Linked DNA regions of Homo sapiens: region 1 is linked to region 2. The links are contacts of gene promoters, found by promoter capture Hi-C in human tissues and cell types (Jung and others, 2019). All regions are on one chromosome and are shown on one strand. Each heading gives the region's core, a stretch centred on a gene start or on the middle of the fragment in contact. The rest is flanking DNA. Distances are from core to core; before and after follow the strand shown. Region 1 has its middle 8.2 kb from the start of PNLIP. Region 2 holds the start of PNLIPRP1 (pancreatic lipase related protein 1).

Region 1 (7,404 bases), core at 3,256-5,755, 54 kb after region 2:
CATGTCTTTCCTGAGCCATCACAGTAGTCTAACTGCCTTCCTTGCCCTCAGACTGTTCCTTTTCTGTCTGTTCTCTATACACTGTTAGAAAGTCAGTTCTAAAATGCAGACTGGTCATTGTACTGTCTTTCTTAAAACCTCACTTCCCTTCCCCTCTCTTGTGCTTTCTAGATTAGCACTGCCCAATAGGAATATAAGCAAGCCACATTTAAAATGCAAAAAGAAACCAGTGAAAATAATGTTAACGATTTTTATAATTCAATACATACAAAATATTATCATATCAATATTAACATGTGGTACTAGTCACATGTCAACTGATCAATGGTCATATGTGGCTAGTGGCTGCTGTAATGTATTGCACAATTCTAGATTAACTTTACTCTCTTTACATCACAAATACAGCTTTACAGATCTGCTTAGCTTCTCTGTGGTTTCCGGTCAACCCTGTTGTATACCCACTTAGCCCATCTTCCACCCCTTATGAGCTTCTTTCAAAATATGCACTCTCAATGGGTTTGGAATGGGAGACAACTGAAAGTACTAAAGAATGGAATAACAAACTTTTCCAGGTGCCAATGAACAAGAAGAGAGAGTAAATAGGAAGAGTTGCAAAATTCAACAGACCCAAAGATCACAGCATGACTATTGAGAGGTGTAATGAAAGTGAAAAAAGAGAAAGCACAAAAGAGAAAAGTCAAAAAGAAAAAAAAATCGACTAACAATAATTTGTACCAAATATATATATTTGTTCCATACCTAAGATGTTTGAGGCACCAAACAATTATGAATTATACAAGGAGGCTCACAAAGGGGCAGGCTAAGCCAGAGGTTGTTATTCATGCGCATTCCACAACTACCCTTGTAAGGCATGAAGCAAAGTCTCTTTCAAAAATTATAAGCTGAGGGATTTACACTTCTAGCCATGATGGGGCAACTGGCTTCAGACTTGCTCTTTTACCATAAATAATTAAAAGTCTGGAAAATATATATGAAGTTTCCCAAGATTGGACAATAAGCAATGCAAGACTAAAATAAGTGAAAAAGGAAAACAAATGAGGTGAGATCACCAATTACTTCAGCTATATGTCTGGAGACATTTCCAGGACCCTAGCAGAGAGAGGGAGAATCTGAGAAGAGAAAGGTAGACTCAACAGGCTGAGGAGATGAAGATCAGATTTCAGTGAGGCCAAAGTATTTGGAATGAGCAGAGCAGAGTACTGAAGAGGAGAAGCTACAAATATGAAAAGCTCCAGAAACTGGCACAGGAGTCCACTTGAGTCCTTGAATAATACTAACATGCTTACAAAGCATAAGATTCCATGAGACTGGTCAGATAACAACCATATGAGAAAGAACAATTTGCTGGTGGACTTTGTAATCCAAACAACTCCTGGAGCTCACACATGATGGAAGACATTCGGTCCAACAGAGTAAGAGATTTTATTGTATAATCAGAGCATTTAGTAGACACCCCCAAAAGGCCATGCTTTAGGAGGACTAAAATATCCCTAGAATAAAGGTTAATCTCAATCTGCCATAAGAAAGCATAAAAACAAATCTTCAAGCATCAATCTGATCTGCAAAAATGTAAAATTATTGGTATTCAGTATCCATTATCAAATTATTTGGCATACAAAGAAGCAGAAAAATATGACTCACTAGTCAATAGAAGGAGACCTAGAATTGATAGGGATTATAATATTAACAGATGAGTACTTTAAAACAGCTATTATAAATAAGATTAAGAGCTAAAGGAAAACATAGGCATAATGAGAAGACAAATAGTAACTATTAGGCAAGATTAGCATATTAAGAAATACAGAAGAGAATATCAGAAAACTGAGACATGGCAATAGAAAAACCATTCACACTGCCAAGTTCAGAGAGGGGAAAAAAGGGCTGAAAAATCTGCAGAGTCTTCATGATCTTTGGGGTAATAATAAGCAGTTTCACATGCATCTAATTGCAGTCCTGGGTCAAGTGTTAAATAAAATTGGAGAAATCATGGCTGAAAATATCCAATATTGATTTGTAAAAATGAATCTATGTATCCAAGAAGTTGAACAATATCAAGTAGGATAAATCCAATGAAAACCAAAAAAAAACACAAAAAATGGTAAAACTGTGAAACCCAATAATAGAGAAAAAAAAAACTTAAAAGCAGACAGGGGGAGAAAGATACAGGGAAAACAAAGAAGGAATGACTGCAGACTTTTCAATGGAAACAGCAAGCCAAAGACAATGGAATGGCTTACAGTAGTTCCCCTTTATTCATGGGGAGTATATTCTAAGACCCCAGTGGATTCCTAGAACTGTGAATAATACTGAACCTATATATACTATGTTTTTTCTATACATACATAACTATAACAAAGTTTAATTTATAAATTAGGCACAGTAAGAGAGTAACAACAATAACTAATAATAAAATAGAACAGTGTACGGCCATAAAATTGATGTACATGTGGTCTCTCTCACTTTCTTTCCATCCCTCTCTCTCTGTCTGTCTTAATAACTTATTATACTCTACTCACCCTTCTTGTGATGATATGAGATGATATAATGCCTATGTGTGGTGATAAAGTGAGGTGACTGACATAGGTATCACTATTCTTGTGATTGAGGGCCATTATTAAGTAAAATGAGGCTTAACTGAACAACAGCACTGGATACCACAACAGCTGATCTGATAACCAAGACAACTGATTACCAAGTGACTAATGCCTAGGTAGCATGTCCAGCCTGGAAATGCTGGACAAAGGGATGATTCATGTCCCAGGCAGGAGGGAGTAGGGCACTGTGAAATTTGATCATGCTACACAGAACAGCATGCAATTTAAAATGCATGAATTGTTTATTTCTGGAATTTTCCAGTTAACATTTTTGGACTATGGTTGACCATATGTAACTGAACCTGCAAAAAGAGAAACATGGATAAGAAGGGACTACTGTATTTAGTGTGCTGAAAGTCACAGACCTAAATGTAAAAGCCAAAACCAAAATCTTCTAGTAGAAAATAGAGGAGAAAAATATTTGCTACCTTAGAATAAGCAAAGATTTCTTAGACAAAACATAAAAATCACTCTATAAAAAAACAGATAAACTGGACTTTATGAAAATTTAAAACCTACTCTTCATCCTTGTGCAGGGTCATGCTAATCTTCTCTGTATCATTCCAATTTTAGTATATGTGCTGTCTAAACAAGAACTAAAACCCTATTCTTCAAAAGATATTGTTAAGAAAATTTTCATTGCCTTTTCAGGCAAGACACAGACTTGGAAAAAGTGTCTACAATACACTCCTAACAAAGAACTTGTATCCAGAATATAAAAATAATTCTTACAAACATGATAGTAAAACAAACAACCTACAAAGATAGAAAAATATTTAATCAGGCCGGGTGCAGTGGCTCACTCCTGTAATCCCAGCACTTTGGGAGGTCCAGGTGGGCAGATCACACGGTCAGGAGATTGAGACCATCTTGGCCAACATGGTGAAACCACATCTCTACTAAAAATGCAAAAATTAGCTGGGCATGGCGGCACGTGCCTGTAATCCCAGCTACTTGGGAGGCTGTGGCAGTACAATTGCTTGAACCTGGGAGGTGAAGGTTGCAGTGAGTCAAGATCATGCCACTGCACTCCAGCCTGGTGACAGAGCTAGACTCCATCTAAAAAAAAGAAAGAAAAAGAAAGAGAAAGAAAGAAAGAGAGAGAGAGAGAGAAAGAAAGAAAGAAGAAAAATATTTAATCAATAACTTCACAAAAAAGATGCATAGGTGGCTAACAAGCATGCAAAAATACGCTCAACACCTTTAGTCATTGGAAAAATGCACAACAGAATCACAAGGAAATATTACAGCCCAGTAAGATGGCAAATATCTGACAATTCCAAAGGTGTAGAACAATTGGAAATTTCATAAAGTGCATAAAGTGCTAGTGGGAGTATCAAATTGACAAACAGTTTGGAAAAGTTTGACAGTTTCCTATAAAGGTAAACGACACTTACATAAAAAACAGCAATTCCACAACTAGGTATAAGCATATATCCACAAAAAGACTTTTCCATGAACAGTCATAGCAGCTTTATTCATAATAGCCCAAGATGAAAGTAACCCAAGTGTTCATTAACTAAACTATGACAACATTAAATACAGCAGTCTGTTTTTATTAATGGTTTCTCTTTCTGCAGTTTCAGTTACCTGTGGCCAAACACAGTTTGAAAATATTAATTGGAAAATTCTAGAAATAAAATAAACACTTCATATGCTTTAGATTGCATGCTCTTCTGCGTAGCATTATCAAATTTTGCACTGTCCTACTCCCTCCTGGCTGGGACATGAATCATCGCTTTGTTCAGCATTTCCAGGCTGGACATGCTACCTATGTGTTAGTCACTTGGTAATCAGTTGTCTGGGTCATCAGATCAACTGTTGGGGTATCCAGTGGTTTTGTTCAGGGAAGCTTTGTATTACTTAACAATGGTCCTAAGTCACAAGAGTAGTGTCATAGTTGTTTGTGTCCATGTGAAAACCACATAATCATCCTGATAGATGCAGAAAATATTTTGATAAAATTAAACATCCATTCATGTTAAAAACCCTCAATAAAATAAGTATTGAAGAAACATATCTCAAAATAATAAGAGCTATCTTTGACAAACCCATGGTCAACATCATACTGAATGGACAAAAGCTGGAACATTTCCCTTGAAAAGTGGAACAAGACAAGGATGCTCATTCTCACCACTCCTATTCAACATAGTTCTGGAAGTCCTAACCAGAGCAATTAGGCAAGAGAAAGAAATAAAAGGTATTCAAATAATGAGAGGAAGTCAAACTATGCTTGTTTGCAGAGGATATTATTCAATACCTGGCAAACCCCATGGTGTCTGCCCAAAGGCTCCTTGATCTGATAAACAACTTCAGCAAAGTTTCAGGATACAAAATCAATGTACAAAAATCAGTAGCATTCCTAACACCAATCACATTCAAGCTGAGAGCCAAATCAAGAGTGCATTCCCATTCACAATAGCTGCAAAAAGAATAAAATACCTAGGAATATAGCTAACCAAAGACGTGAAAGACCTCTCCAACGAGAATTAGGAAGAATCAATATTGTTAAAATGGCCATATTACTCAAAGCAATTTACAGATTCAATGCTACTCCTATCAACATTATTCATGTAATTAGAAAATTCATATGGAATCAAAAAAGAATCTGAATAACCAAGTAAGTCCTAAGCAAAAAGAACAAAGCTGGAGGCATAACATTACTTGACTTCAAAATATACTACAAGGCTACAGTAACCAAAACAGCACGGTACTGGTATGAAAACAGACACATAGATCAATGGAATGGAATAGAGAACCCAGAAATAATGCTACACGCCTACAACCATCTGATCTTAGACAAAATTGACAAAAACAAGCAGTGGGGAAAGGATTCCCTATTCAATAAATGATACTGGGATAACTGGCTAGCCATATGCAAAAGATTGAAACTTGATCCCTTCCTTATACCGTATACCAAAATTAACTCGAGATGGATTAAAGACTTAAATGTAAAACTACAAAAACCCTGGAAGACAGCTGAGAAAATGTCATTATGGACATAGGACATGGCAAAGACTTCATGATCAAGATGCCAAAAGTAATTGCAATGGAAACAAAAATTTATAAATGGGACCTAATTAAGCTAAGAGCTTCTGCACAGCAAAAGAAACTATCAACAGAATAAACAGTCACCCTACAGAATGGAAGAAAATATTTGCAAACTATGCATCCCACAAAGGTCTAATATCCAGAATCTATAAGGAACTTAAACAAATTTACAAGCAAAAACCAAACAACACTATAAAAAGTGGGCAAAGATTATGAACTGACACTTTTCAAAAGAAGACATTCATGTGGCCAACAAGCATAGGAAAAAATGCTCAACATCACTAATCATTAGAGAAATGCAAATCAAAACCACAATGAGATACCATCTCACAACAGCCGTAATGGCTATTATCAAAAAGTCAAAAATATCAGACAGATATTGGCGAGATTGTGGAGAAAAGGAAATGCTTACACACTGCTGGTGAAATGTAAATTATTCCAGCCATTGTGGAAAGAAGTTTGGTAATTTCTCAAAGAACTTAAAACAGAATTACCATTCGACCCAACAATCCCATTCTTGGGTATATACCCGAATGAATATAAATCATTCCACCATAGAGACACATGCATATATATGTTCATCGCAGCACTATTCACAATAGCAAAGACATGGAATCAACGTAAATGCCCATCAATGGTAGACTGGATTAAAAAAAATGGTACATATACACAATGTAATACTATGCAGCCATAAAAAAGAATGAGATCATGTCCTTTGCAGCAACATGGATGCAGCTGGAGGCCATTATCCTAAGCAAACTCACAAAGAAACAGAAAACCAAATACTACTTATAAGTGGGAGCTAAATTTTGAGTACATATGGACACACAGAAGGGAACAACAGACACTGGTGCCTATTTGAGGGTGGAGGGTAGAAGGAGGGTGAGGATGGAAAAACTGTATCTGTTAACTATGCTTACTTCCTGGGTGACGAAATAATCTGCACACCAAACCCTTGCAACCCAGTTTACCTGTATATTAATAACAAACCTGCACATGTACCCCTGAACCTAAAATAAAAGTTTAAAAGTAAACAAATAAGAAGTAAAAAATAGCAACCATAAAAAGGAATGAAAGCATGTCCTTTGCAGCAACATGGATCAGCTGGAGGCCATTATCCTAAGTGAATTAACACAGAAACAGAAAACTGAATACCACATGTTCTCATTTATAAGTGGGAGCTAAACCTCAGTGACTCGTAGACATAAAGATGGCAAAAATAGACACTGGGGACTATTAGACAGGGGAATGGTGGGGGGCAAGGGTTGGAAAACTGACTGTTGGGTACCATGCTTAGTACCTGGGTGTCGGCATCACTCATACTCAAACCTCAGCATCATGCAATATAACCAGGAAATAAACCTGCACATGTATCCCTGAATCTAAAATAAAAGTTGAAAAAAATTATGCAATATTCATACAGTGGAATACTACTCAGTTATATAAAGAAATGAACTATGAGTACATGTAGCATCATAGACAAATCTCAGAGATATTAAACTAAATGAAAGAAACCCAACAAAAAGAGCATATAACTATATTATTAGGCTTCCATGAAGTTCTAAAACAGGCAAAACTAATGTTAACTACAAAGAACAGATCAGTGTCTGTCTAGGGTTGAGGGTGAATTAGGGGATTATTTATAGGGCGCCTGTAATCCCAGCTATTCGGGAGGCTGAGGCAGGAGAATCTCTTGCACCTGGGAGGCGGAGGCTGCAGTGAGCTGAGACCCTGCCAC
Region 2 (7,185 bases), core at 852-3,351:
AGTAGCTGGGACTACAAGAGCCTGCCACCACAACAGGCTGATTTTTGTATCATTAGTAGAGATAGGGTTTCACCATGTTCGCCAGGCTGGTCTCGAACTCCTGACCTCAGGTGATCCATCCACCTTGGCCTCCCAAAGTGCTGGGATCAATTAAGTGGTCACAGCAACACATGTCAGCCTCTCAGGGATGTGGGAAAAATTTGAACAAAGAAACCCCTATAGTCCCTCGCTTATAGGATACAAAGTACCCTCACTACAAATGGAAGCAGAAAACATCAGGCCTTGGTTTAACCAGAAATTAGGTAGTAGGAGTACTTTTCTAACAGCAAATGTGGTTGCTTCAGTGTGCAGATGTAGTGCGGAAACATGGAAAGGCATTTTAATTTTTGTGAAGAGAAGCATTTTAATTGCATAAAGTTACCTAATATGTAAAGATTTCTTGAGTGCATAAAGTGATGCAGAGATGTTAGCAGAAGTGTTGGCCTCAGCTGGCCACAGGGATCAGAGCTGGCTCCTACCTTGCACATGTCTGTCACCCAGCTCTCATCTCCTTTGTCTATGAAGCCATGGATGATGAACCGGGTCTTTCTGTCCATTTGAAAATTTGATGCCTCAATTGTTGATGGATCAGAGAGGAGGAGAATCTGTGACAGACGCAGAAGTGCTTCATGTTTTCGCAGCCCAGCCTCACAGGCCTTTTTCCTTCCTCATCTCCGCCTGCGCCAATGCCTCTACTTTTCAAAGCTTAGCAAAAAGCCACTTCTTCCATGAAGCCCACCCTGATCTCCCTTTTCTTGCCCCATCTCTCCAGGTGAGTAATCACTGCTTCCACTAGGCCTGGATTGTGGTTTGAGGTTTTACCTTCCCTGTGGTTTTTGTTAGACAGTAAGCTGTTTGCCCCAGACCAGAATCACACAGTAGCTAGAGGTTCTGGCAAATGTGAACCATTCATTCATTCAAGCCAACATTACTAAAGACCTGCTCTGTCTAGGTCTAGCTAGGTCTGGGGGGCAGCTTGAGGGATGGGGTGGGGCATGGTGGAGGAAGAGGGCACAGAGATAAGGTATTCATGGTCTGCAGGGTGGGCATAGCCCCGTGCCAGTTACAGTGACATTTAAATGACAGAGGTCTCACTTGAAAGTTGTTTGGGTTTTCATTGGTGTACAGCAGGAAGCGGGTGCCGATCTTCTCAGGGCTCCAGGGGAGAATTTTCAGGGGCCTGATTGCTGTCCCGCCCCAGGGCTCAGTGTCAGAAAAGCACCCGAGGTCCTCATAGCAAACTTCTTTTCCTACAGAGAAAGGTTGAATCTGCTCAAGGATTTGCTCTCAAGGTGTGCTCTGGGGTGTCACTGCTGTTCGGGCCTGGTCACTCTTCTATTCAGGGACAGTCTGAAGACAATGGATGAACCTACTGCAACCCCTCCCACTCTCTTCTTGACCCCAGTGCCCACCTACTACTGGCCGGTAGTAGTATCAGTCCCATTGAATCCCACAGGGACACCACTGGAGCCTTTGTTTAGAACTACCCTCAAAACTGGAAAGTTCTAAGTCCCATTCCTAGCTCTTCTGATACATTTATTTGACCAATGTGATCATGGGCATTGATAAGTCAATATGTTAACTCAGGCAGATGTTTCATGCTTTACCTAGAAATGTCTGGCCTTGGGCACCCCGAGCATGAAGGTAGGCCACTGGGGGGATCCCCAGAAACAGGTCTCCCTTAAACTGCCCAGCCTACTCTCCCAGGCAGAGTGTCAGCCCACATCTTCTCTCTGGTACCCTGGAGCTGCTGGGAGCCCTGCCACAGTTAAAGCTTTCTCTGGCCAGGGCTGAGAGCTTAAGTTTAAGCCCTTCCTACGGGGCAGGAGTGGTGTTTCTTACCTTTGGCTGCTCCCAGCAGGAAAAGTGTGATTGTCCAGAAGATCAGCATCTACAATAAATTTAAACATAATTCAGTCTCACCGGGCATTGCCAGAGCAGTGAGCACCGACGCCCTGGACTTCAGTACTGTTTACCTCACCTGTACGTCACAGCAGGGGGAAAGGAGTTGCAAAGGTGGCTTACCCTGTCTAATGTTCCAGATGTTCCCTCCCACCGGATCGAGTGTCCAGCCCTTTCTAAAAATATATATTCCAGCCTTATCATTTGGACACTACTTCAAGAAAACAGCAGGTGATTATAGCCCATGCTGTGCGCACTTAATACTTTAATCTGCCCAAATACACAAAACAAGATTAATAATAGCTGTCAAGTCTTCCCACAAGTCTGGAAATATGACAGAATGCTTGGTTAAAGCAGGGAGTGAAGTCACCAACCTTGTACCTATGTAACTATGCATGTACTTGTGAGCTGAATGGGCCCTCACTTTTCAGTTTTCTATTTCATCACCAAATAGTTTACAAGTCTCAATAGGGACACAGCAGCAAACCCTAATGATAGAGGATAGTATTTCTCATTTAGAATAGATGAAAATACCTGCAATTAGTTGAAAGTAAAGAGAAATCTCTGATTAAGAAAACTTCTTCTCTCTCTCTCTCTCTCTCTCTCTCTCTCAATCTTCCTCTCTCTCTTTCGAAGACTAGGAATACTGGGCATCTGAGCTTTGGAGAAAAATTCAACAGCCCTCACAGTAGCTTCTGACCACAATCCTCCCATTAACTGCCTATTCCAGTTATATATTGCTATGCAATGAACCAATCCAAAAGACAACACTTTAAAACAATAGCAATGATTGCATTATGCCACTGTAATCTCAATAGTTGGGTTCAGGAGCCCCCAGAGGCCCATGTCATGTCTGTTGAGTTTCCCCAGGTCCTCTGAAGGTTGCACACCTGCAGATAATTCTTGGACCCTGTAAAGCCATCATGATATAACCAGAGACCTCTGCATCTGTGAACAGCCCAGCCAGTTCACACAGCAAGGCAGATAAGCCTTCACAAAGCAAACACCATGAGTGCCTCCCCTTGCCAAGTTAAATATGCCTCGGTGTCAAAGTTCTCAATCTTAAATAACCAAAACACAAGGGTGCAGGCCTAAGGGCCTTCCTCTTAAGAAAATGGAAAGGACTCCTGGAATCATAAAGAATAGCTGCCAACTGTTACGAAGCCTTACCAAGTACAGTCAGAATTCCAAGCACCTTACGTGTATTACCTAATAAGTTTTAAAACAATCCCATAAGCCTCTCTTTATAAATGTGGGAACTGAGGCACAGAGAGATAAGTAAATTGCCTAAAAAGTCACACGACTAACGAGTGATGAGGTAAGATTTGAATTCAGGCTGTACAGAGTTGTTGAATATTCAGTTGTGTTGAGCTAGTAATCAGCAAGCTTCACTGGATGTCAACCATGTAGAACAAGAGGGATACACAGAATGAGTCAAAAGAGAAAATGTGAAAACCCTCTTGGCCCTTGACCTGTTTCCTCCCTACTTCCAGGCATCCCCAGGATGGAGAAACAGGCTAGACTTGGTGATGGACTGGGAAGGTGGTCAGAGTTCTTCATCCCTTCCTCCTGTACACACACCCTTTGCAATGTGATCTTGCAGCTCCTTCCATCAAGAAGTGGAGTTTATTTCTCCACCTCTTGAATCTGAGCTAGACATGGTATGACTTGATTTGGTCATTAAGTGTGGTAACAGCAACATCTTTGAACAACTCAAAGCCAGCTGTCCCCCAAGTATGTAAAGGACCCAGCCAAGATTAGTGGCACTGCCTACTCAACCCACTGTAACCACAGAGGCATGAGTAAATCCAGCCAAGACCAGAAGAACCACCCAGCAAACTCAGATTTTTGAGCATGGATAAATGCTTTAATTCAGTGCTTTAAGCCACTGAATTGGTGATTGTTTGTTATGCAGCAGTAGCTAACCAATACAGGAACCCAAGCCAGGCCTGGAATTCAGAGACAGCAGCACCTGTTGCACTCACTGTTACTATTCTTTAGCACACAGCACCAGGTTCGAGCATACCCTTTCCTAAGACAATGAGGAAACTCCGTGCATCAGTCAATATACACTGTGCTCCAATGCACTGGCTCCTGTTTAAATGCTCTAGGGGATTTAATTAGACTAAGCCTCTAGCAAGGCTGAGGTTCAAGCTGCTTCTCCTTCACAGGCTGTCAGACAATTTATTCATTCCACACCAGATGGAAAGATTTCTGGGTGAGTCTTTCAAACAACAATAACAACTGGAATTTCTTTTTTTCTTTTCTTTTCTTTTTTTTTTTTTTTTTTTTTTTGAGATGGAGTCTTGCTCTGTCACCCAGGCTGGAGTGCAGTGGCGCGATCTCGGCTCACTGCAAGCTCCACCTCCTGGGTTTATGCCATTCTCCTGTCTCAGCCTCCCAGGTAGCTGGGACTACAGGTGCCCGCCACCACGCCCAGCTATTTTTTTGTATTTTTAGTAGAGACGGGGTTTCACCGTGTTAGCCAGGATGGTCTCGATCTCCTGACCTAGTGATCCGCCCGCCTCGGCCTCCTAAAGTGCTGGGATTACAGGCGTGAGCCACTGCGTCTGGCCAACAACTGGAATATTTTGATTGAACTTACATCCAGTTTCAGGGTCACAAGTAAGGATTCATAGGCATACAAATCTGTGGATCTCTTTTTGAAACCATGACTTCATTTCCACCAGACAGCTCTCAGGTCTTCAAGACGTATGACTCATTGAAGGTCACAAAAGTAAAGAATGAAGTCACCAGCCATTATCTGTTATACATACATGTGTAGATGAAGCCCAAATATCTGCTTTCCTTCAGGCAATCAGCTCTGTCCTTGTTTGCTCCTTCAATTTTAATTCTGGGGGAATGATAGAGTTGGGTTCAAGGTGGGTTTTCGGAGTCCCTTAATTTTAGAGAAATGTTTGTTTTGAGAAAGCTGGTTTTTAAATCTCTTCCAGAGCCTAGAATCAGACTGTATTACATTGAACTATGTTTCTAAATATCCCATGAACTGGCAGACTCTCCCTCTGTGTGTTGTAATGGAAGTAGGGTACAAGAACTTGCCTCATCATTAGTCAGCTATTGATTTCTTTTTCTTTTATTAGAGATACCTGTCTGTGGGAAGTGAACTCAGCTTCTGAGTTTCACCTAGAGTTCTCAAAGTCCTTGATGACCGCTGGTAGATCTCACCGAGGCCAGACAAACCCTGGTGCCAGTTGGAGTGCATTAGGTCCAAAAGTCTGCGCTCCTCTGTAGGGGTCCTTGGCATTTCCAGAACAACTCCCAGCCTTCAGAATCTGGGTGCTGTGAAGTTCTGCAAACTTGAATGACGATTAGATAGGGAAATAATCAGAACTTGCTCTCCATACAAGTATCAAAACGGTTGATTTACACCCAAAACTTGGCTGAAGCCACTTTTGGGGGCCTCTGCTTGTCCATGAGGAAGTCCTCATCATCCAGCTGCCATGGACTTCGGAGACCAGGAACTGGGTCTTTTTTTTGCTCACTTCTGTGTCTCCAATGCCTAGCGGAGTGCCTCACATATGGTAGGTGCTCAGCACATGTTTGTGGAAGACATGAATGCTTACTCAAGGACCATCCTAGTCTTGTCTCCTACAATTCTCTTCTCTGAATACTGCCCAGAAGCCATAACAAACTGTCTTCTTAATATTAAAAGAGCTAAGCTTTTAAAAACTGTGTAACTTTTCTGTACTTACCTTTAGTTGTTTCATAATGACCAAGATCCTATTTAAGAAAATGTTTTAGGTCTTTTGACATTTCTTACAAACTTCTGAAATTCTAATTTAAGTCTTTTGATCTCAGAATGACTTTGGGACATACTAGAGGGTCCCTGGAGCTTCTCAAAGGAAGAGACATATTAAACCAATTAGGCTTATTAAATACATTAAATTATATGGGAAACATTGTAAATAAGAAATTATATTTAACCTTCTTTTAGTTATACTTGTATAAATATGTTGTTTCATGTTCCACAAACTAATAAATTCTTAGAAATCTAATGTGTTAGCAGCTGTAATTTTGGTTATTATGTTAAACTGTTATATGCTACAAAACAACCACATTTCCTTGTGAATTGTGTCACTATTATAATGAATTCTCATCTTTTAACGATGGTCATTTTAAGTCCTGTTATTCACGCACAGATCATTAAATAGTTAATTGTTTCCTTTTTTTCTTTTCTTTTTCTTTTTTCTTTCTTTTTTTTTTTTTTTTGAGACTTGCTCTGTCGCCCAGGCTGGAGGGCAGTGGCACGACCTCAGTTCACTGCAGCCTCCGCCTTTCGGGTTCAAGCGGTTCCCCTGCCTCAGCCTCCTGAGTAGCTGAGACTACAAGTGCATGCCACCATGCCCAGCTAGTTTTTGTATTTTTAGTAGAGACAGGGTTTCATCACGTTGGCCAGGGTGGTCTTGAACTCCTGGCCTCAAGTGATCCGCCTGCCTTGGCCTCCCAAAGTGAGCCACTGCGCCTGGCCAGTGAATTGTTTTCTGAAAGCTTTTTGCAAGCAACTGTAACCTTACCGAGCTTCAGCTTTATGGAGATTCATGGAAAGTACTCTGACAAGTATAGGCTGATAACTCTAGGATTATCCCAATGGATTGGGTAAGAATTCGCAGAGCTCTAACAAACTGGTGTCTTGATTACAGGCATGAGCCACCACGCCTGGCCCTCTCTATCCACTTTTTAAGACCTAACACAAATATACTTTTCTTTCTTAGGGTGTTATTGTTTGGACATGGCCTAATTTTAAATACTTGACCCTAGTGGATCCATTCATTGTTTCCATTACTGGGAAAGTCATTCAAAAAATATTTATGTGCTCTTCTACTACATGCCAGGCATGTAGGCAATAGGTAAACCCCTTAAGGAGTTTAGAAATGGGATATACATAGAAATGAACCAGCAATTATGATATGGAGAGTCAAGGGTTGAGGTGGGAACATTTCTGGGTGCAGTAGGATTATTGCCGGGAAGCCCCTTATCAAGTCTTAGGGGGTATGGGTAATGGAGGTGAGGAAAGATTTCCTGGAAGAAGTGCTGTCTACTCAGATATTTAAGAATCAGTAGGAGTTGAACAGACAGGAAGATAAGGAAAAGAACATCCCGGGAAGAGGAACCATTCATGGCAACATCCAGCCGCATCAGAGATCAAGGCCCTTTTGGGGAACAAGGCCAAAATGTAGAGTTCCAGAAGGAGCATGGTGAGAGATGAGGCCTGGAGTCCAAGGT

Evidence for each region. Contacts are between HindIII fragments. The study calls those that stand out against the background at their distance.
Region 1: a contact is called between a fragment that was not itself captured here and the fragment with the promoter of PNLIPRP1 in region 2, in 2 of the 25 tissues and cell types used here (H1 embryonic stem cells and mesendoderm cells).

What each region holds. Positions count from the first base shown.
Region 1 is chr10:116,533,991-116,541,394 of GRCh38, reverse strand. It overlaps the pseudogene RNU6-1090P. Among named protein-coding and RNA genes, the nearest start is that of PNLIP, 8.2 kb to the left of the region's middle. The HindIII fragment of the contact is 9,042 bases long and covers 1-7,404 here.
Region 2 is chr10:116,585,875-116,593,059 of GRCh38, reverse strand. It overlaps PNLIPRP1 (pancreatic lipase related protein 1), which reads right to left and starts at 2,101. Exons shown (of 13, transcript NM_006229.4): 1 at 2,065-2,101; 2 at 1,882-1,930; 3 at 1,135-1,289; 4 at 519-644. The coding sequence starts at 1,930. RefSeq lists a silencer at 4,393-4,597. The HindIII fragment of the contact is 3,195 bases long and covers 1,280-4,474 here.